7 separate regions of the Homo sapiens genome follow, and all the other regions are linked to region 7. Evidence: promoter capture Hi-C in 16 types of primary human blood cells and fetal thymus (Javierre and others, 2016). All regions are on one chromosome and are shown on one strand. The core of a region is centred on a gene start or on the middle of the fragment in contact, and the rest is flanking DNA. Distances in the headings are between cores, read along the strand shown.

Region 1 (3,162 bases), core at 291-2,790, 1.2 Mb before region 7:
GTTCTGTTTACAACAGTATGCTCAATCTCCAGAGTGGTGCTGGCACTAAGTAAATATTCATTAAATATTTGCTGAATGAATAAATGTAACTTGGTCTCAAAAGTGTTAAGTTTTATGTGATTCTGCCTAATCTCAAATAGGACACTTTCATTTTATGAAAGTATCTGTAAGCAAAGTTTAATCTGCCTTTAGATGAGATGACACACATCAAGTTAGATCATGAAGCTTATGTGTATCTCAGAAGGCAGGTATACGCCTATATTCAGTCTTGTTCAAAGACAAGGACATTGGATTTGCAGATGCCTTTCAGCAGGTGGCCAACCTATACTGCCATGTTGGTGGGGGCCTTAATGCCACAGATCTTTTGGGTTGAAAAGCAGGTGCATCCTTTTTGATGTGCCAATAGTAGAGGACTGTGCTGAAGGAGTGAGAAATGTCAGCCAGTGTGGTAGACAGGCTATATAAGATGGCCCCATTGGCCCCCAACCCCACTCTTCACACTTTTGTGAAATCCTCTGCTATTGAGTGTGGGCAGGACCTGCGACTTGCTTCTAGGCAGTGGAATATGGAAAAGGAGATGGAATGTTACCTCCATGATTACATCATATAAGCTTGGAACTGCTGTCTTGCTAGCAAACTCTCTCCTTTGCTGGCTTTAGTAAAGCTAGTTGCCATGTTGGGGATGCCCATGTGACAAGAAACTGAGGGTGGCTTCTGGCTACCAGCCAGCTTGAACTGAGTCTCACAGTCTAATATCCCAAAGGAAATTAATCCTGCCAACAACATAAGTGAGCTTGGAAGTGCAATCTTCTCCACTGAGCTTTCAGATGAGACCTTAACCCTGGCCAGTGTCTTGATTTCAGGTTTATGAGAGATCTAAGAAAGGGAACCCAGGCAAATGATGCCTGATTCCTAATGCTGAAACTGTGAGATAATACATGTGTGTTGTTTTAAGGTTCTAAGTTCATGGTGATTTTTTAATGTAGTGATAGATAACTAATACAGCCTAGGAGAAGGAAAGTCTCATAGTAAGATTTGATTTATATTGACTTCCGCCATACACTTTCCTGACACTACTTTATGAGTCCCTATAACAACTCTAAGTTGATTCTATCTACATTTTACAAATGAATAAACTAAGACTCATAATTTAAGGATCACATAGTCGGAAGGTGGCAGAACTGGGATTTGAACCAAGACACGTATAACTCAAAAATTCTACCATATTCAAATCTCCCCTAACATATATTTCACCCAGTTCCAGAAAGGCAGAGACCAATGTCTTTCCTTAGAGACTCATATTACTGAGAATAGTATGGTGCCATTTAAATTCTGATTTTTACTGTGATAATTACTTGTTTTTTAAGTTTCTTTCTTTTTTTTTTTTGCTATTACAACTCATTTATAAATATATTCTATTTTTTTAATTGACAAAAAATATTTATGGTATATAATATGCTTTGAAATATGTATACATTGTGAAATGGCTAAATCAAGCTAATTAATGTATGCATTACCTCACATACTTACCATTTTTTTTTTTGTGCTGAGAATGCTTAAAATCTTAAAATCTACTTTTACCAATTTTTAAGTATACAATACATTGTTAATAACTACAGTAGATATAAAATATAAAATTCTTTTTTAATTATACTTTAAATTCTGGGATACATGTGCAGAACGTGCAGGTTTGTTACATAGGTATACGTGTGCCATGGTGGTTTGCTGCACCCATCAACCCGTCATCTACATTAGGTATTTCTCCTAATGCTATCCCTCCGCTTGCCCCCCATCCCCCCAACAGGCCCTGGTGTGTGATGTTCCCCTCCCTGTGTCCATGTGTTCCCATTGTTCAACTCCCACTTATGAGTGAGAACATGCAATGTTTGGTTTTCTGTTCCTGTGTTAGTTTGCTGAGAATGATGGTTTCCAGCTTCAACACCATGGAATACTATGCAGCCATAAAATATGAAATTTTTAAAAGATATTTTTTTCCCTCAGTTTTATGGTACCCTTGCTTTGTTGATACTTTAAGCACTATGTTTTTAAACACTTGTATTTGCCAGTGCCTATCACAATGCCTAGCACGTAGCTAGCAATTAACACATGCTTGTTGAGTGAGTTGTTGAGGAATTGTGTCTTCAGGACAGATTCAGGTTGCTGCTACCTATACAAGACTACTATATTATACACAATAGACCCAGAATTGGTTTATAGTGAGAGGTGAGTCTATTTTGGTACCAAGTCCAAACTTAGCCTTGAGGAATCCCTTCATGGCATGTAGGATTCTTCAAATCAGTGAGTCCAAAGATGGCCTGGAATTTGTGTGTGAGCTCTGGAGGGGCAGACCCTGTTCTTTAAAACTGGGTGCTTCCTGAAGTCTGTGGTTCTCAATCCGGTTTTATTAATTTGAATTGCACTAGGAGGCAGGAGACCCTGACTCTGGGGCTATGGGCCAATGGAAGCTTTGGCTAGGCTCAGTGCACATTCTCACCTGGAGGGCTCCTATCCACTTCGTGGGATGGTAGTCAGGAATCTTTTTCTCAGCATTGTGGTTAGTTGGCCTGAGTTTGAATCTTGGTTCCTCCCTTACCAGTTGGATGATTTGAGCAACTTATGTGGCCCTCTATAAGGACATCTCCCTCAGGGGGCATTGTGAGGATCAAGAGATAGGAAGTACATAGGAAGCACGTTATCAATGGCAACTTGTGTAATTGGCCATTGTATACAAATTATAACTTGTATAACTACTCTTGTTTCTTGCATTTCTCTCTGTCCCCAATTTCTTTTCTGTCCTTATTCATCTGCCCCTCACTCCTGGATGTCTCAAAAGTACTTCAAGCTCACCATATATAAACTTAAACTAATTGCTCTAACTCCCTCCTGTGTCCCTAAACATGCCCCCCTTAAAATAAAAGTTACCATCTTTATTAAGGATACGGGCATTTACATGGTCACCCAGAAACCTCAGAGTTGTCCACACCCTTCCCTTGCCCCTACCTTCCACATCATAGTTGACATCCAGACATTCCAAATTCTGCAAGCTGAAATGTTCCTACCCCTTTTATAAAAATTTTTCTGTGGCGACTGCCCTAACGGAATAGTACCCAGCTCCTGGGTACTATGCTTCTAATTGTCCTCCTTGTCTTTTCCTAGTTCTCC
Region 2 (2,999 bases), core at 465-2,964, 1.3 Mb before region 7:
CTGGTGTTGACATCTTGCATCGTCACAGGACAAGAATGAGGACTAAGAAATGGACATTTGTGCATCACCGTAAACTCGACCTCAGCCTTTGCTCAGATTGCACGTTTTCCCATGAGGTCGTTTTCCTGATCCAGGGTCCAATCTGGGACCCCACATGGCGTTCACTCATCACGTCTCCTTCGTCTCCTCTGATCTGTGACCAATCCTCCGTCTTTCCTTATTGCTTTGTGACTTTGACAGAACTGTTCTTGTTTGAGCTCTCGTTTGGGTGAACAGCCCAAAACCGACTGGTCAGTTATTTTGTAGTTATTTGGTCTCTCAACTTGGGTTAGTCTGATATTTTCTAGTGGTGAAATTGTGGTTATGCATCTTGGGACAAGAACACCATGGAAGTGACAACGTCCTTCCCAATGCATTAGTGTTGGGAGGGTTCGAGATGTCATCGTATCATCTTACAGATGACATTAACCTTGAACCCTTGGTTAAGGCTGCGTCTTCTGGATTTCTCCACCGAAAAGTTATTTCCCTCGCAAATATTTTGGAATGAATAAATTCTAGGAAATACCGCAGAAGCTCAGATACATATTTGTTATGTCCTAGATTTTCCACCAGGGGACGATGTTCACTGACAAATCTTAATGGGCAAAAGTCAAGGGATTTGAAAGCAGGGGGCCAAGGCCCTGGGGGGCTGGTCTGAGTCCACTCTCCCAGGGCAGCCCTCGTTTAGGTGAAGAGCCCCAGGGGACAGATTCCCGGTTGGGCATAGGTGCCAGGTGTAGGGGTGGCTGAGAAGAGCAATCTGGCTTGGCAAATTTATAGTGCATAGAAGACTGAGCTAAGAGGCTGGTAGCTGCTGGGGGGTGGGGGGTCTGCGCGCACGTGTGTATGCACACATGTGCATGTGTGTGTGCACGTGTATGTGTGTGAGGAGGAGAAGCTTTAATGTTGTTACATTCAATACCTTGGCGTTCATTAGACTTGAAGAAGCCAAAGCAAATATCCTTCCTATGGTGCCTCCCTGCCCCTGTAAACCCCCACAGACACCTCGGGAAAGGCCCGTGGGCCCCGGGCAGAAGGGGACCTGCATGTGAAATGGCTCCTGGTAGCCTCAGAGATTTTAGGCTTGGAGCAGACCCAGGGCATTGGAGATATCATTTCTACTTAATTAAATTTTAATCCAATAGGATGTTTAGAAATAATACAGACTGCAAAAGGGCATGAGGGAACTTAGTAGAGTGAGAGGAACATCTCTGTTTTAGTTGGTGGTGTTATATTTGTCAAAGCACAGGGAATTATCCATTTAAAATGGGTGCATTTAAAAAATAATTCAATTGTGGTAAAAATACACATAATGTGAAATGTACCATCTTAACCACTTTTAAGTGTACAACTCAGTAGGGTTGAGCAGCTCCACAGTGCCGTGCAAACAATCTCCAGAACCTCTTCCTCTTGCAAAACAAACCCTGTGCCCATCAAACGCTAACTCCCCAGTCGCTGACACCACTATTCTTTCTGTCTCTGTGATCTTGACTCCTCTAGGCACCTCCTATGAATGGAATCACGCAGTATTTGTCCTTTTGTGACCAGCTTATTTCACTTGGCATAATGTCTTCGAGTTCACCCCTGTGTAGCAGGTGCCAGAATTTCCCTCCTTTTCTAGGTGGAACCACACTCCATTGCATGTATATACCAGATTTTGTTGATCCCTTCAGGCTTCAGTGGACACTGGCTTGCCTCCACCTTTTGGGTATCGTGACTAATGCTAAAATGGACATGGCCGTACACATTTTGGAATTGTTAGATCACAGAGTAATTCTGTTTTTAATTGTTTGAGGAAGCGCCATGCTGCTTTTCACAGTGGCTGCACCACAATGGTGCATTTTTTTAAAGAATAGAAATGACTTTAAAAAGAGCACATTTGATAGCTCCTGTGGCGTTGTGGGGGAAGGTGTCTTTTCTTCCTTCCCAGTTCATGAGGGCAGGGCTTCTAAATATTCTTCCTAGGTCCATGTAGCTCCAGACTCATTTCTGGCTCTAATTTTGCCCCCTGAAACCAACAGGAAGATTAATAGGCATTTGTTAATAGCTCCCAGGCCTACAGGCCCCCAAACAAAAACAAACATCCCCGTCCTGGGCCAGCCCCACACATCTGCCCCACTCTACCTCCTGACTTGTGGACGTTTTTGGAATTGGGCATCTCGGTTGGATGTGGCCTTCTAGACATCTGGCAGTGAAACCCTGGCACGCTGGGCACTCTGGCTTCCTGGTCCCTTTCCATCCCAGGAGGAAGACAGTGATTTACAGGAGCAGTGCTGGCCTTCCTGAGGATTTGACTCAAGTAAAAGCCTCCAGGGGCCTGAACTGTCCTGAGATTTTTAATTGGGTTGCTGGAGAGATATTCTTGCCTTCTTCCCTTCTGTATTAGTCTGTTCTCACGCTGCTAATAAAGACATACCCGAGGCTGGGTAATTTATCAAGGGGAGAAGCTTAGTGGACTCACAGTTCCACGTGGCTGGGGAGGCCTCACAATCATGGCGGAAGGCAAACGAGGAGCAAAGTCACGGCAAGAGCGTGCAAGTGTGCAGGGGAACCCCCTTTATAAAACCATCAGATCTCGTGAGACTTACTCACTATCGCAAGAACAGCACCGGAAAGACCCGCCCCCGTGATTCAATTACCTCCCACCGGGTCCCACGTATGAAGTATGGGGATTATGGGAGCCACAATTCAAGATGAGATTTGGGTGGCGACACAGCCAAACGCTATCAGCTTCCAAGTAAAGAAGCCTCCACGTCCCTTCAAGTCCTAGGCATAGAAGCCTGACAGGTCACTTGTTCCAGAGCCGGTTGCAAAACTGAGCAAGCAGGGAGATTTCTCTGGTAAGGCCTCTGTAGCTTGTGAAGGCTTCTGAGCTGAGGCCAGATCGGCTCTTTCCTCATCTGTATTCCTGACCTTTCCATCTGCCTGTGGGCGTCCACGATGTCGGGGAAAGCAGCAAT
Region 3 (3,303 bases), core at 67-2,566, 1.2 Mb before region 7:
TTCCCAAAGGTCAATTTGTTCATTAATTCAACACATCTTCATTGAGGGACTACCATGTGTCATGCATTGTGGCTATAGTGTTAGGTACAACTGAAGCAGTGGAGAAGAGATGCAATAAACTATTGCATCCATATAAAGTGTGCAGTGCCAGCCATGATAAGCACTGAGCAATACACAATTTGGCGCTGTGGGGGTGGTGGGTATGCGAGAGCCCATATGTAGCAGCTCAGCTGGTTGCTTATGAGTGATCAGAGGCCGGGCGCTGTGGCTCACCCCTGTAATCCCAGCACTTTGGGAGGCCAAGGTGGGCGGATCACGAGGTCAGGAGATCGAGACCATCCTGGCTAACACGGTGAAACCCCGTCTCTACTAAAAAAATACAAAAAAATTAGCTGGGCGTGGTGGCGGGCGCCTGTATTCCCAGCTACTCGGGAGGGTGCGGCAGGAGAATGGTGTGAACCCGGGAGGCGGAGCTTGCAGTGAGCCGAGATTGCCCCACTGCACTCCAGCCTGGGCGACAGAGTGAGACTCCGTCTCAGGAAAAAAAAAAAAGTGATCAGAGAAGGCTTCCCTGGTTCAGCTGAAATCTGAAAGATGGAGAAGAAGTTGCCCAGGCCAAGGGATGCAAGGGATGGTGGAGGTGGTGGAGCATGTGGTAGGGAGAGAACATTCCAGGCAAAGAGAGAAAATCCTGCACAGCGTCTGTGGAAGGAGAAAGTACGAAGCTTTCAAGAAGGGGGAGCAGTGGTGCCCTAGCCAGTCTGGCTTTGGAGGAAGCTCCATCCTAGTTGCTTCACCCAGGGCTGTGATCAGGAAATCCCTTTTCAGATCTTCTTGTGGCTCCGTTTCAAAGATCACTTCCTTTTGCAGAAATAAAACATGTTGCTAGGCTATCGTCTCAGCTCCAGCCCAAAACTCGTGGGCACAAGTTGGGGGGAAGCCAGTGTGGTGGCCTGAAGAAGGTCTCTTCATTCTTCGTTTTTCTTCCTGCCCTGGAAGGTTCTAGAAAGCTGTGCACTGCTATTCCTTTTCTTGGGAGGTTTGGAATGAGGCTAAGGGCTGAGGATTACTGGTCCCATCTGGAGACAAGTGTTTCAAATCAAGATCCCCCCTTTTAAAGATAGCTGCCTTCTTCAGGGAGGCTCTGTTCCCCGACCCACACTCCCTGTGCTGATTTCCTGCTGTGTAGACAAGTACCTTAATAAATGATTATTTATTTTATCGGGCAGCCCCTTCTGTACATGTCCAGTTTCCTGCTGTGACCTCCAGCCAGAATCCCAAGGTGTCTTTCTTAAAGGGGCCAAGGAGATGGAGCCTTTTCTAGTTTTTATTCTTTTTATGGCTGTGAGCTGTGAGTTCTGTACAAGGTAGCTTTTCCCTGGGGAGGTTTCTTCCTTCCCAAAGTCTTCCCCTCATTCTGTTAGATACCAGCCTTCCAAAGACCCCCAAAGCTGCTAGTTGGGACTGAGGGGCCCCCAGCCCTGGCTGCCTGTACCCCTATCCTTGGGCTGCAGATGAAGGCAGCAATGACCCCGGCAAAGGATGAGGGGTCAAACAGAACAGGGGATGAGGAAGTATCGGAGAAGGAGTCAGCCCAAAGCATTTTCACTGGGCTTCTAAGAAATCCATGTGTCCAAGGTGTCTTGGTGGTAAGCAGAGCCCATTTCCCCTAACCAGGGTGGCAGCACCAGGTCAAAGGAACTCCGTGTGGGTCCCTGCTTGGATTATGCTCTGTCCCCACCACCAGGCCTTTGCTTATGCTGTGTTCATTGCCTGTAGTGACCCTGTCTCCTGCCTTTTGGGAGACCTAACATTTATAGAGGGCCAGCAAGGTGCCGGACATTGTTCCAAGTCTTGGGGATGCAGTGATGCACAAAACAGCCTATTCCTGCCCTCATCAAGCTTGCATTTCAGAGCAGGGCCAATGGACAAGAAATGAATATGCAGATAAACACTATGTGTGGTCTGTTGGGCAGCCGTAAGTGCTGATGAGAAAGAAATCCAGCAGGACAAGGAGGGTGATGGGGAAAGTGGTCAGGGAAGGGTGGCTTGAGAGGTGACAGAGGAGCGAGGAAGTGTGTTCCTAAGAGAGGGAACAAAATGTCCTAAGGCCTGGAGGCAGGGCTGAGCTCTGTGTGTCCCCAGGCAGCTAGGAAGCCAGCTGGTGGAGGAGGAGTGAGCCAAAGGCTGAGAACAGGGAGAAAGTTGCTGGACACCCAGGCCATGTGAAGTTCCATGGGCCATTCGCAGTGAGGATTTTGGATTTTATTGCAAAGCAGATGGGAGCCAATGGAAAGGTCTGAACTGAAGAGTGACAGGATCTGACTTAACGTTTTAAAGGAATCACTAGTTGTAGTCATTGATACATATTCATTCATCTCATCTTCAGCATTTTAAGATGCAGTGCTTTCGTTTGTTTCCATTTTATAGATGCCAAAACTCGAGGCGCAGAAAACCTAAGTAACTTGCTCAGGATGCCATACAGCAAGTGAGGGGCAGAGCCAGGATTCTGTCTGAGCCCTCTGGTGGTTGGGCACCATCAGCTCCAGGAAGCCTCTTCTATGTGCTCCAGAATTGGTTGCATGGGGAGCCCCTATGAACTTCACCTTCCTGAGCCTCAGTTTTCTGTAAAATGGATATGATAGCAACCACTCTTGCCTTACTTTATACACAGTGCTGTTGGCAAAACCAAATGAGATGAGCTGCAAAATGAATGACTATATATTATTAATTAAATTGTTATAAAACCCAGCTCCTATTTATCAAGCATCTGTGGGGAGCAAATTCCTGCTTATTGGGTCTTATTTAATTACCAAACCACTCTGTGCTGTAGGTGCTATTGCGATTCCAGAGAGCCTGGCACAGAGACAACAGTCAAGAAACTTGGAGTGAATTAATAGCGATGATCTCATTGGATTCCTTTCTTTTCATTCCACTGGGGCTTCTGGAGTTCCCTTGTTCTAGGTTCCTCGTGTCTAATGAATAAAATAGTAATATTTACTTCCTAAAGAGGTTGTGAGGATATCCTGTAGACCAAGTCCCTTCCTAGGAAGCAATTAATCAATTAGCTTTTTTTTTTTCTTTTTTTGCTTTCAGAAACATTCTATGCAAATAATACATGCAAAGGATTTACATAGCACTAAATATTTTTAATGCAAATGATATACAATACTATCTTGCCCTTTTCACTTAACAATGTGCCTTGGAGATAATTGCATTATAATACATATAGACAACATTGTTCTTTTTTTAACAGCTGCATAGTATTCCATTGTATGGCTGTTTTATAATTTTGTCTTTTGC
Region 4 (3,177 bases), core at 161-2,660, 1.2 Mb before region 7:
TTACGGGCTGTTTAGAGAAACCCTTTTGCCACATGCCTGTTGACCCCAATGTCCATTAAAGTAGAATGAAAAATGGGATACCATGGTTCCATCATAGAATATTATACAGCAATGAAAAATGAATCAAATACAATTACTTGCAGTGACATGGATACATTTCACGCACACAACACACATATACACATTTTGTATATATTTTGAGGGAGAGAAGCAAGCTCAAAGAATATGTGCTCTATAGACATTATGGTCAAATGTATAAAATTCCAAAAGAAGCCAAACTAAATAAGGGTGTTAAAACTCAGGAGAGACAAAAGGTTACCTTTGGTTGGAGGTGGAATGGTGGAGTGTTTGGGGGTTGCAGTTGATGTTCTCTTTCTTGACCTGGGTGTTCGCTTTGTAATAATTTACTGATCTATATCTGTGTGACTTGTACATTTTTTCTGTATATGTGTTATACTTTACAATTTAAAAAGGGAGAGAGAGATGGCAGGAGAGAGCGAGAGAGAAAGACCCAGAATTGTCACCAAGGAGAGAGACCCCAGGGAGTGGGCCAGGCTGGATGGAGCTGGGAATTCACCCCATGACTGTCTTCTCTGGCCATCTCGCCATCTGCCCACTGATGTTTTGGGGACATATTTCACATTTTTTTTTCTCTCATGTTGTCCTAGGCTGGGTTTTCCAGGAAGCAGACAGACTCTGGGACAGAGTTTAGGTTGTAGGGTATTTATTGTGGAGTGCCATGGGGATCTATGCCTGTGGAAGTTCAGGGAAAGAAGAAGCAGGAATAGGCAGATGGGGAAGTCGAGTTGTGATGAGGGTTCAATGGCAGCCTCGGCCCAATGACCCCATGGGGAGCTCTGGAGCTGAAGTGGCTCCTTTGGGTTTGTCCCATGTGGGCTGGGAGGGCCAGGCCTCTATACTCCTACATGCATTGGTCGTTGGATGTGGGCCACTGTGTATTAAGCATGCCTTTTCATTCTCATATTTTCACACCTGGGACCCTTGCTGACTCTGGAGAGACTGCCTCTCCTAAAGCCAGTCAATTCCTTCATAGAGTAAATGAGTGGACTTCAAGTGCAGCTTTCATATGCAAACCAACCAGCCCAAAGCCCACAGGCCCCACCACCTCCTTTATTGGCTCTCACACTATGGGCCACTATCCACCTACCCTAATCACTACAGGGCCAGGTACCAGACAGCTAGGGACAGTGCTATGCCCCAGAACCTACTGAAGTTATTCTAATGAGCCAATTCCAAGCCTGCTTACCCTGCCTCACCTGTTTCTTCCTTCAGAAACCGCAATCAAGGATCTTGCCTACTTTTTCACCCATTCCCTCTGCCTCCTGAACATCCCTGGTGCTGCTCCCCTGTGGCCACTGCTGGCATGACAAGCTCCCACACTGGGGATCTGTGAGTAACAAAGTATCTTTTTAATACTCAATGGCCTCCTATCTTTTGACTTTGCCATACCTGAATAATAATAATAATGAGAACTATAAAGCCTACATTTAAAAACACACCCAAAGGGAGAGCATCAGGATAGTTAATGCATGCAGGGTTTAATACCTAGGTGATGGGTTGATGGGTGCAGCAAACCACCATGGCACACATTTACCTATGTAACAAACCTGCGTGTTCTGTATATGTATCCCAGAACTTAAAATTTTAAAAAGATAAAAAATGAAAACACACCCTGAGAAAGGGTATGGCTTTCTGCACCTTGAGCCATCCCTGGAGAGGCTGATAGCTGTATGCTGTCTGCTAACAGGGCATTCCTTGACGGGGATGGTCTGTGTCCATCACAGAGTCTTTACCTTAAGGTCTAAATAACCCTTCATTGCAGGGCTGGGATAGAGAGAGACAAGTGAATCACTGCATGCCCTGAGAGTGGGTGCCTTCTAAAATTTTGCTCCTTACATGCCTAACTTGCCTTGTCCTGGTCTCAGCCCTGCTTCCCTCTCTTTGCTCAGCAGCTAGGGTGATCCTGTGTCTCTCCTCTGTTCAAAACCCTCCCCTTGCTCCCTTCTCACTCAACATAAAAGCTAGAGACCTTCCTGTGCCCTCCAAGGTTCTACAGGATCTGGCTTCCATGACCTGTCTGTCCTTATCTCCTGCTGCCTCCCCCTTGCTCTGGTCCAACCACACTGGCCTTCTCACTATTTCTCCACAGGCATGTCCTACCCCAGGACACGTTCACTTCCTTTGCCCTCTACTGGCAATGTTCTTCCCCCACGTCTGCCCTTGGCTCATTCCTTTATGTCCTTCCATTCCAGTCTTTGCTTGGCCACCTGCTCTAAAATTCCAGTGCTTCTCCCATCCCTGGCACTTCCTATCCCGCTTCCCTGCTTTATATTTCTCTGTGTAATAATACAGTGCATTTGACTTGTTAATTCATTGAATGTCTATTCTCCCCACTTGAATGTAAGTTCCAGGGGGTAGAGTGGGGAAGAGGAGAATTTTTGTCTATTTCATTCATCGCTGAGTCCCCATAGCCCAAAACAGGGTCAAGTGCATAGTCTTAAAAAATCATCCACTGGATGACTGCAAAGGCATATGTTTTGCAGAAGGCGCTCAGGTTGGCTCCTCTGCAGCTGCCTTGGACCAACTCTGGTTCAACATCCAGGACGTGCAGTTTAAATAAAGATGCATTTTAATTTCGCCATCTCTGCCCACTCATATTCCTCTTTCATGTCTCTCCCTCCCCTCTTTCATATCCATTTTCTTTCTTTCTCCCACTCCTTCCCGCTTTTTGGTACTTGATGGAATCACATTAAACTAATAAACCTTTCATTACTTGATTGTACCCGTAATTACGCACACTGAGAGCTGGGTTCGTTTTGATTTTCTGCGGACTTTGGGTCGCTGATGCTTTTGAATACTTGTTTTTATTCCTCAGCTGCCACTTGACCTCCCCCTCGCCCCCGTTTTAAAAAGGATGAAAAGCCTAGAAAAACATCAGAAATATCCTTTTATTTTTCCCGCAATTTATTTGGAGGGTTTTGTTTTGATTTTCCTCTTAGAAACGGGGGGTGTTAAAAAAGAATCACATGTTGCTAAACTGGCCACCAGGTTGTAGATTCTGAGATGAGAAGGAGATAAAGTTTCCATTTACTGGGGGCCCTGAAAGAATTCACGTTAAAGGGTAAGTTTGGTGTAATCCCCTGAGCTGCCATTGAG
Region 5 (2,920 bases), core at 387-2,886, 1.1 Mb before region 7:
CAAAGACTCTTAGGCTCAATAAGGTCACATTCCGAGGTTCTGGGTGGATGTATTTTTTTTGGTGGTAGTGGGGTGGGCAGGGCACTACTCAAACTCACCGCAACATCCCTACCAAGTACTGAAACAGAGCGTTAATACCAGACAGGACCAATTCCAAAGCCCATACCTTTAATGGTCACACAATACCAGGAGTGTTCCTGTAGAAGATTTACAATGACAGTGAGCTTTCTTTGACCAGTTTGGAACCTGGGGCCTGCAGCTCTCGACTCTGGCTTCTCTTCATGTGTGAATTTGAGTCTGTGTCAAATATATGTTTGCAATTTTCCAACAAAAAAGAAGAAAGTTGACTTGGCATTGAGGTTCACCCTTTCCCGCCTCACCACCACACACAACTGGTCCAGCCACTAGGCATGTCCATGGGCTGTTCCTACCTCTGCACCCTGATCCATTTCATGCTCCCAGCTGCCTCCTCATTTCTTATCTCCTGTCCCAGTTGGAAGGCTTTATGTTGGCATTTTAGGCTTGAGAAGAGGAGAGAGGAAGGGAAATGCTAAGATGACCCCCTCATGAGGATGTGCAATTTACAAGCCAGTTGCGTGGAGGAAGCACAACAGTAAATTAGCAGATCAAAAAATGTAAGAGAGATCTGTGCTAGCCCAGTTTGCTTGGCTGGGTTTCTCAGCTATGAAACAAACTGCCTATTGAGGAAGGGTGAGACTTACAGGGAGTAACACGAGGGAATTTCTTTGTGGTGATGGAGCAGTTCTGCATCCTGGCCGTAGGGAGGCTCACCTGTCAAACACTTATGCATATTTCATCCAAACTCTTTCCCTCTTGGAAAAGAGGGTTAAAACTTGTCTGCACTTTTTCTAGCTTCTCTGAGGTAGTATAATGCTATGGCTAAAAATCAGGCTCAGGAATTAGATCTGAGTTGGAAACCCAGGCTTCCCTATTATTGGCTGTGCAATTTTAGGCAAGTGACTTACCTCTTTTGAACCTCAGTTTTTAATTTGTATAAAGTGAATATTGACCTCAGGACTATTGTGAGGATTCAATGACCTGCTAGAGATACAGTGGCCAGCATGGTACCTGGTGCACAGACAATAGTGAAGAAAATGTCAATCATGACTACTATTATGATTTCTCAGTCTTACACACCTCGTGTTCAAGTCTTCATCATTTCATTTCTCCTTAGAGTGGTAATGCAGTGGTGATGCATGCTCTTTATCCCACCCAAAAAGGGCGGCTGGCCTGAGTCCCTGGTACTCAATGTGCCTGTGCCCTGATCCCGTCACGAGCTTGGGTTGCTCATTCCCATTTCACCATGGAGCACACAACTTCTTTCTCTGCTTGTTTGTTCTTTCCTGTTTGCCGAGAGCTGATGTCATTAGTTTAATGCAGACTCCCAGACATCAGGGGCTGCGTCTGTGTAACTCGCTTTGTGTTTATACTACACGGATGCTTAATAGTGTCTGGTGATGATGGTGTATTACAAATGACAGCCGAGTCAAGAATGCCCCTCTGCTGGCCTGAATAAGTCAAGGGGGTTTTGAACCATCGTTCTTTCCACAAACAGTTGTTTAGCACATATTAAGTGCTAAGTAGAAGGGATGCAATGATGATTAACTTAGGTCTCTATCTTGTTTATTTTAGCATAGGTCTTAATCTTGCTTATTTATGTGCATAATCTGAGCTCTTTGAGGTCAAGGACCATGTCTTGACCCCTCTCACAAATTTCAATGCTTAGTACAGTATCTGGCATATAGTGGGTGCTAAATACTTCTTTGTTTTATTCATTGTTGATCTGAGAATTAGTTTTGAACTATCTAGTGTAGGCTGGGCTCTGTGCTAGACATTGAGAATACAACAGTGAACCAGGCAGGCAGTCATCTGGAGGTGACAGATATGTAGATGAGTAATTACATTCTAGCAAGATTTTGGCAGTTCTGGGGTGGAGAGGTGGTGGGACCACAGAAGACAGATCAGCCAGCTCTACCTGGAGGAGGAGAATGCCTGCAGCCTTTGCATTGAGTCTTGGTGGAGGAGGAAGGGTCCCTCACGTGGAGGATGGAAACACGGGTGTTCCAAGCAGAGGAAACAGCATGTGCACAGTCACGGAGGTGAGAAAACAGCTGGAGCTTTGTGAATAGCAAGTGACTGACAACCAGTGCTCAAAGGATGGGTAAGGGAATGAATCTGGAAAGATAATTTGAAGGTAATAGGTAGCTATGAAAGAATGTCATGAAATGTCATAGTCTTGTTCTCGAAAGACCACTGTGGGGTTGAATGGAGGATGACTGGGGCTGGTAAACAAATCCTTCTCTGACCCCCTTGGTGAACTTTGTGGAGAATCTCAGAGCCAGAAGCTCTTCAGTGGGCCAGCAAATCAGCTTTCTGAACAAAACTTACCTGTTGTGTACTGTTTGGCAGTTCCCATGGTGTAACTATTCCCAGCATGGCTGTCTTCAAGCTACCAACACGATGTCCCTGAATGCAGAGGTAAAATGAAATGGCTTGCCTGGCATCACTCCTGTTAGGGAAAGAGATGTGCATGCACTTAGTAAGTGTGGTGGAAAATATTAGAGCCAAAAAGCCTTCATTCTGTCCCTTAGAGAGCTTCTGTAAGGGTCCACAGAGACAATGTGTGAGAAAGGAGCTTCGGAAATTGTAACTCAAATGTGAGGCAGTGGTCTGTGTATGTTCACCGGCATTCGATCTGTTCTCCCTAGCAGCATTACCTAGCATTTTTCTGGACAGGTTTATCTCTCTTAGCCATGTGGTTTGGGTGGGACTGCGCCAACACCCAGCTTCAAGACCCAACTAGTGCAAGCCAATGTACAAATCTCCCTCCACCACGCCCCCAGCCCAGACCACAAGCATTGGCTCAGGGTTGAGTACTGAACCAATCCAGGCCTGTGAA
Region 6 (3,183 bases), core at 227-2,726, 1.2 Mb before region 7:
TGCCATGTTGGCCAGGTTGGTCTCGAACTCCTGACCTCAAGTGATCCGCCTGCCTTGGCCTCCCAAAGTGCTGGGATTACAGGTGTGAGCCACCGTGCCCGGCCCCATTTTCACCTTCTTAAAGCATACAGTTCAGCACATTCAGTGTTGTGCAACTATCACCACTATCTAGTTTCCCAACATTTTCATTTCCCCCAAAAGGAAACCCTGTACCCCATTCTCCTCTCCTCCCAGTCCCTGGCAACTGCTCATCTGCTTCCTCTCTCCATGGATTTGCCTATTCTGGATATTTAATTTAATTTATTTTTTGGCTCAATACCCTCATCCTGTCTCAGGCTATCCCCGTGGTATCACAAGAGGCCAGAAAGTGGGAATCCTCAGACCAGTGGTTCCCAAACTTTGTTTCACTTTTGGAATCACCTGGAGACCATTAAAAAAAAATGGCTGGGTGTGGTGGCAGCACCTGTAGTCCCAGCTACTCTGAGGTGGGAGGATCACTTGAATCCAGGAGGTCGAGGCTGCAGTGAACCGTGATTGCGCTGCTGCACTCCAGCCCGGGCCACAGAGTAAGACATTGTCTCAAACAAAACAAAGCAAAGCTGTGCTTGCCTTCCACCCATCGACATTCTGATTTAATTGGCCTGTGATCGGACCAGGACATCAAGACTTTTAGCAGGTCCTCAGGTATTTCTAATGCACGGCAGCATCTGCAGACCCTCATACCTCAGAGCCTTGCAGCTCTGAGACTTTGCATCCCTTTTACAGGTGGGTAAGCTGAGGCCCAGGGTGGGAGAGGACTTGCCCAGGTTCACACAGGATGTTTGTGGCTGAACTAAGATTGGCACATAGTATTTTTGTTTGCTTTGTATTAATATTATTTTTGATGGACAAATCGTAATTATATACATTTACAGGGAACACAGTATTCTTTTACCCCACTGATGCCCTCTTACCCTCTTCCTGCCTCTCTAGCTATTTAACCTCTTTGTGCCCATTTTTTTCCTCCTCTGTAAACTGAGGGTCTTAATGGTTCCTACTGGTAGGTTTATTGTGCTGATCAACTGAGATTATGTCTGCGAAGTGCTTAGCACCGTGCTTGGGTTATAGCAAATGATATTCATCGATTGTTTTGCATGGGGTGGGCAGGGGGTAGAAGTGAATGGATGCCTGAAAGACCATGAGCTCATTGAGGAAAAGGACTGAGATTCTTCTCTCTGCATACTTGGCATTCAGTGTAGACCTTGCCATTTAACAGAAGTTTTTTCAATATGGAAAGAGGCTCTTGGTTGAGATCACACGCTCCTGTCTGCCTTTGCTCAGGCTGGGCCCCTTTCCTGGAATGCCCTTGCCTCTCCTTTCTCCCCCTACCCTCCCACTCTTCAAGGCCCAGGGCATTGGGACCCACTATATCAGGCCAGCCTGCAGCGACTGAGGATCCCACTCTTTATATAGTTGTGTGCGTGTGTGTGTGCACGTGTGTGTCCTGTTTCTATCACCTGACTCCATTGTTTTAGGAACCAGCCCATGTCTCCTGTACGTCTCTGTGTCAGGCATGAGGCTAGGCACACAGTCGGCATCTGCTAGGTACCACCTGAGGCCTTGATGACCTTCAGCTCCTGGGGAAGTTGAGGATGGGGATCCTCGGTGTCTCTAATATTCCCCCTTCCCCATAAGTGCATCCCAGGGAAGAAGATTGTTGTGGGCACCCCCGGCCACCCCACTCTGCTTGCTTGTAAAATCCCATTGTTGGGGAAAGGAGTCTCTATTCAACAAATGGCGCTGGGATTGCTGGCTGCCATGTGCAGAAGAGCAAAACTGGACCCCTACATTTCACCATATAAACCAACGCAAGGTGGATGAAATATTTAAATGTAAGACCTCAAACTATAAAAATCCTGGAAGAAAACCCAGGAAATACCCTTTTTGACATTGGCCTTGGCAAAGAATTTTTACCCATTCGCTGGCTGTGGGAACCCATATGACCCAGTTCTGGCCAATGGGAGTCAATGCCAGCTGCTCTGAGAAATTCTGGGAAATGTCCTTTCTCTCCTCTCCCCACTGCATTTAAGAGGCTGACAGTCGTGGCTGGAGCTGAGTCTGAGTTGAAGCCACCAGAATGGCAGTAACGTCAATCCCGAGCTCTGGCATTCTTGAGGTGCAGAAAGCCTTGGATGGCCCACTTCAGACTTATTATTCAGGAAAATCCAACCCCATGGCTGAAGGCACTCATGGTGAGGTGTCTGTCTGCAGCTGAACACTTCCTAACCGTTAGGACCATTCCCAACCTGCTCTTTCCCTATTTAAAGACAGAAGGAAGGGCAGACACTCAGGGTGAATTTCCTAATGTTCTTCTCATTGATCTTGGAGTAAAACCTCCAAGGAACTGGAGGTACCTAGTGATGTTACCCTCTAGGGTTTATTTTTATTTTATTTTATTTTTTGAGATGGAGTCTCGCTCTGTCACCCAGGCTGCATGGAATGCAGTGGCACGATCTCCGCTCACTGCAACCTCCACCTCCCGGGTTCAAGCGATTCTCTTGCTTCAGCCTCCCAAGTAGCTGGGATTACAGGTGCCTGCCGCCATGCCCAGCTAATTTTTGTATTTTTAGTAGAGATGGGGTTTCACCATGTTGGCCAGGCTAGTCTCGAACTCCTGACCTCAAGTGATCCTCCCACCTTGGCCTCCCAAAGTGCTGAGATTACAGGTGTGTGCCACCACACCTGGCCACCCTCTAGGTCTTATGTCCACAAGTAATAATAATACTGATAAAGGTTAACATCTTCAACACTTCCTCTGTGCCAGCACTTTGTGTGGATTATTTTATTTGATGCTCACTCCTTCCCATAACCATCCCATGGAAGCTGTTTGTATCCTCATTTTTACAGATGAGGAAGCTAAGACTCAGGGAATGTTTGTAATTTGGTGGTTGAGAGATTGTTTTTTGTTTCCTGCAGCAGACGGAGCCTCATTTCCATTATGAATCGGTCTCCCTCACATCTCAAACACCCTGGCTCATCTCTTCATCACCCTCATCCCCTGATGTGCTTTTCTTGCATGTGGTAGGTGCTCCATAGGTGTCTTTGAGAACTGTCACACCTACTGACAGGTCACCCCCTGTGATTCACCCTCTGCTTTCTTCTGTCACCAGCCATTCACCAGTAAGTGTATGCTGAACTCAAAGG
Region 7 (3,363 bases), core at 561-3,060:
TCACCCTTCCCTTGGTGCCACGTTGGGGTTTCGGGGTTGCTGGGGGTTGCGCGGGTGCACAAGGCAAAATGCGAGAGAGGCCTGTGCTGGCCTACAGAGACACACACATCCAAAGCCCTGAGTCTCTTAAACCCCTAAGCCCCCAGATCAGCCCTTTCTCCGTTCCCTTTCCATCGAAGAAGCTTTCATCTCAGGAAAGATAAAAGAACATTGTTTTCAAGATTTCCCTCCATCTAAGCAAGGATGGTCCAAGACATTGGCCCCCAGAATCAAGAACTGTGGGCTTAGGCGAATCCTCTGACCCCGACCGGGCGCTGCGGTAACAGAGTTGGTAATTCGGCGATTGGTAAGATCCGGTCGTTTCCCTCCCGTCCGCCTAAGAGGAGGCCCCCACCCTACCCGTACTAAAAACAGTCAACTCGCCTCTGAGGTGGGGGCGTTTCACGGTTTGTTTTACAAATTCACCCTCCCTCCCCGACTTCTGGCCAGATTAAGTCCCCGGGGTGGAGAAAGAACTGAGGCACCGAGAGATAAGTGCGATGCCTAGAGAAGATACCAGGCTGGCGCGCCTCCCCCAACCCAATCGCCCACCCCTTACCCTGTGCTGTGCACCCAGCCGGGCCTCGAGGTGAGGGCAGCGGCTTGGAGGGGACAGGCTCAGAACCCAGTCTCTCGCTGTGCTCGCTTTGTCCAGATCCTCCATTCTCTTCTCTACACCCACACCCACATCCAGGTGGAATATGGGGGCCCGCATGCAAATGAAAGACGAGATCCAAAAGGGCTGGTAAATGCATTTCATAAAAATCCCAAATCCATCTTCCCCAGGAGCTCAGGCAGGGCCAGCCGCGCAGGCTGTGTACGTGTTTGTGTGTACGTGTTTTTCGGTGTGTGTTTCAGTCCCAGTGTGTTGGCGCGTGTTCGAGTACAGATACACCGGGGGTGTTTGGGTACCCGCACATGGCTGCGGGTGGGGCGCAGTGGAGAGGAAGCCCACACATGCGTGTGCTGAGATATGGCCGCATCCTTGTGCTCCCCCAGCCCAGACGCAGGGGAGACCAGCACCGAGACACCCGAGCTCGGGAGCCCTTCAGCGGCGGCCGGGCGGAGCTTGGCTCCACGTGGGGCTGGAGAGCACGCAAGCCTGGAGTCTCGGCGCTCGCTTCTCGGCTGCCGCCGGCTTTTGTAGAACCGAGTGGCCGGATGGCAGCTCGCGGGGAGGCTCGGCCACCCGCCCGGCTCGCCCGGGGCGGGGAGAAGAAGGAGAGCTGGAGAGAGAACCGGCCGCGGCGGTCGGAGAGGCGAGCGGAGTGCAAGAGAGGCGAGCGCCCCTGCCCGGCGCCCGGGCGCGCTCTCCGCCTTCCCCGCCCGGCTCGCCTGCTCGCTGGCTCCCTCCCTCTCTCCCTCCCCCTTCCTCCTTGGCCCTGCCTCCTCCCTCGATCCCCGGCTGGATGACTGAGGCATTTCAGACGTGGGCTGAACCAGAGCGAGCGAGCGAGCTCAGGGGCTGCAGCGATCTCTCGATAAGCCACCTAGAGGCGACTCTGTGCGCGCGCGCTCCCCAGTGGCTCCCGCCCGCCCTCTGATCATGTTGACATATTCACAGGACAGGCAGTAGTACCGATGCGGCGCTGCGACGTTACAGTTTCCGACACCTTCTTTTTATAACTCAGCTCTATCCCCCAGCACTCGACCTGTGAAAACCACGCCTATGCAGCAACACAATTGGTCCGAAAGCGTCAAAGAGCCAATCAAGAGGCCTCCGGCTCCCCGCAGCCCACAGCGCAGCCCGACCTTCTAGAGCCGCCGAGCAGACGCCCGGTGAATTCTAGAGGCGGCGGAGGGTGGCGAGGAGCTCTCGCTTTCTCTCGCTCCCTCCCTCTCCGACTCCGTCTCTCTCTCTCTCTCTCTCTCTCCCCTCCCTCTCTTTCCCTCTGTTCCATTTTTTCCCCCTCTAAATCCTCCCTGCCCTGCGCGCCTGGACACAGATTTAGGAAGCGAATTCGCTCACGTTTTAGGACAAGGAAGAGAGAGAGGCACGGGAGAAGAGCCCAGCAAGATTTGGATTGAAACCGAGACACCCTCCGGAGGCTCGGAGCAGAGGAAGGAGGAGGAGGGCGGCGAACGGAAGCCAGTTTGCAATTCAAGTTTTGATAGCGCTGGTAGAAGGGGGTTTAAATCAGATTTTTTTTTTTTTAAAGGAGAGAGACTTTTTCCGCTCTCTCGCTCCCTGTTAAAGCCGGGTCTAGCACAGCTGCAGACGCCACCAGCGAGAAAGAGGGAGAGGAAGACAGATAGGGGGCGGGGGAAGAAGAAAAAGAAAGGTAAAAAGTCTTCTAGGAGAACCTTTCACATTTGCAACAAAAGACCTAGGGGCTGGAGAGAGATTCCTGGGACGCAGGGCTGGAGTGTCTATTTCGAGCTCAGCGGCAGGGCTCGGGCGCGAGTCGAGACCCTGCTCGCTCCTCTCGCTTCTGAAACCGACGTTCAGGAGCGGCTTTTTAAAAACGCAAGGCACAAGGACGGTCACCCGCGCGACTATGTTTGCTGATTTTTCGCCTTGCCCTCTTTAAAAGCGGCCTCCCATTCTCCAAAAGACACTTCCCCTCCTCCCTTTGAAGTGCATTAGTTGTGATTTCTGCCTCCTTTTCTTTTTTCTTTCTTTTTTGTTTTGCTTTTTCCCCCCTTTTGAATTATGTGCTGCTGTTAAACAACAACAAAAAAACAACAAAACACAGCAGCTGCGGACTTGTCCCCGGCTGGAGCCCAGCGCCCCGCCTGGAGTGGATGAGCCTCTCCATGAGAGATCCGGTCATTCCTGGGACAAGCATGGCCTACCATCCGTTCCTACCTCACCGGGCGCCGGACTTCGCCATGAGCGCGGTGCTGGGTCACCAGCCGCCGTTCTTCCCCGCGCTGACGCTGCCTCCCAACGGCGCGGCGGCGCTCTCGCTGCCGGGCGCCCTGGCCAAGCCGATCATGGATCAATTGGTGGGGGCGGCCGAGACCGGCATCCCGTTCTCCTCCCTGGGGCCCCAGGCGCATCTGAGGCCTTTGAAGACCATGGAGCCCGAAGAAGAGGTGGAGGACGACCCCAAGGTGCACCTGGAGGCTAAAGAACTTTGGGATCAGTTTCACAAGCGGGGCACCGAGATGGTCATTACCAAGTCGGGAAGGTAAGCAGTGGGGGCCTCCTCCCCTAAGCTGTTGGAGAGTTTTTTCCTCCCTTTATTTCTCTGCTCCCAGAACAGTCGGTTGGTCGGTTATTACGGCTTGGACGAAAAGTTAGTTCCCCTAGAAATGTATGCACAGACTTCCAGGCCCTGCCCCGGTGGCAGGAAATTTCAGCTTACCTGGGCATCTGCA

What was found. The method cuts DNA at HindIII sites, captures the fragments that hold promoters and counts their contacts. A CHiCAGO score of 5 or more calls a contact.
Region 1: a fragment that was not itself captured here is called in contact with the fragment with the promoter of TBX3 in region 7 in 10 of 17 cell types (activated CD4 T cells, total B cells, total CD4 T cells and 7 more); the score reaches 8.4 in activated CD4 T cells.
Region 2: a contact is called between a fragment that was not itself captured here and the fragment with the promoter of TBX3 in region 7, in 2 of 17 cell types (non-activated CD4 T cells and activated CD4 T cells). The highest score is 7.4, in non-activated CD4 T cells.
Region 3: a fragment that was not itself captured here is called in contact with the fragment with the promoter of TBX3 in region 7 in 3 of 17 cell types (activated CD4 T cells, naive B cells and naive CD8 T cells); the score reaches 6.8 in activated CD4 T cells.
Region 4: a contact is called between a fragment that was not itself captured here and the fragment with the promoter of TBX3 in region 7, in 12 of 17 cell types (non-activated CD4 T cells, naive CD8 T cells, activated CD4 T cells and 9 more). The highest score is 13.2, in non-activated CD4 T cells.
Region 5: a fragment that was not itself captured here is called in contact with the fragment with the promoter of TBX3 in region 7 in 1 of 17 cell types (naive CD8 T cells); the score reaches 5.2 in naive CD8 T cells.
Region 6: a fragment that was not itself captured here is called in contact with the fragment with the promoter of TBX3 in region 7 in 16 of 17 cell types (M0 macrophages, naive CD8 T cells, activated CD4 T cells and 13 more); the score reaches 17.8 in M0 macrophages.

What each region holds. Positions count from the first base shown.
Region 1 is chr12:115,874,947-115,878,108 of GRCh38, reverse strand. All of the region lies in intron 1 of LINC02463 (long intergenic non-protein coding RNA 2463), which reads left to right. Among named protein-coding and RNA genes, the nearest start is that of LINC02463, 9.7 kb to the left of the region's middle. The HindIII fragment of the contact is 1,854 bases long and covers 614-2,467 here.
Region 2 is chr12:115,944,931-115,947,929 of GRCh38, reverse strand. No RefSeq gene overlaps it. Among named protein-coding and RNA genes, the nearest start is that of LINC02463, 60 kb to the right of the region's middle. The HindIII fragment of the contact is 1,549 bases long and covers 940-2,488 here.
Region 3 is chr12:115,856,947-115,860,249 of GRCh38, reverse strand. All of the region lies in intron 2 of LINC02463 (long intergenic non-protein coding RNA 2463), which reads left to right. Among named protein-coding and RNA genes, the nearest start is that of LINC02463, 28 kb to the left of the region's middle. The HindIII fragment of the contact is 1,177 bases long and covers 728-1,904 here.
Region 4 is chr12:115,893,641-115,896,817 of GRCh38, reverse strand. No RefSeq gene overlaps it. Among named protein-coding and RNA genes, the nearest start is that of LINC02463, 9.0 kb to the right of the region's middle. The HindIII fragment of the contact is 7,517 bases long and covers 1-3,177 here.
Region 5 is chr12:115,816,034-115,818,953 of GRCh38, reverse strand. The region is part of intron 3 of LINC02463 (long intergenic non-protein coding RNA 2463); the gene reads left to right. Among named protein-coding and RNA genes, the nearest start is that of LINC02463, 69 kb to the left of the region's middle. The HindIII fragment of the contact is 4,405 bases long and covers 1-2,920 here.
Region 6 is chr12:115,913,259-115,916,441 of GRCh38, reverse strand. No RefSeq gene overlaps it. Among named protein-coding and RNA genes, the nearest start is that of LINC02463, 29 kb to the right of the region's middle. The HindIII fragment of the contact is 9,331 bases long and covers 1-3,183 here.
Region 7 is chr12:114,682,622-114,685,984 of GRCh38, reverse strand. It overlaps TBX3 (T-box transcription factor 3), which reads left to right and starts at 1,810. Exons shown (of 7, transcript NM_005996.4): 1 at 1,810-3,173. The coding sequence starts at 2,785. TBX3-AS1 (TBX3 antisense RNA 1) reads right to left here. Exons shown (of 2, transcript NR_187552.1): 1 at 3,351-3,363. RefSeq lists a promoter at 1,299-1,808. The HindIII fragment of the contact is 4,535 bases long and covers 185-3,363 here.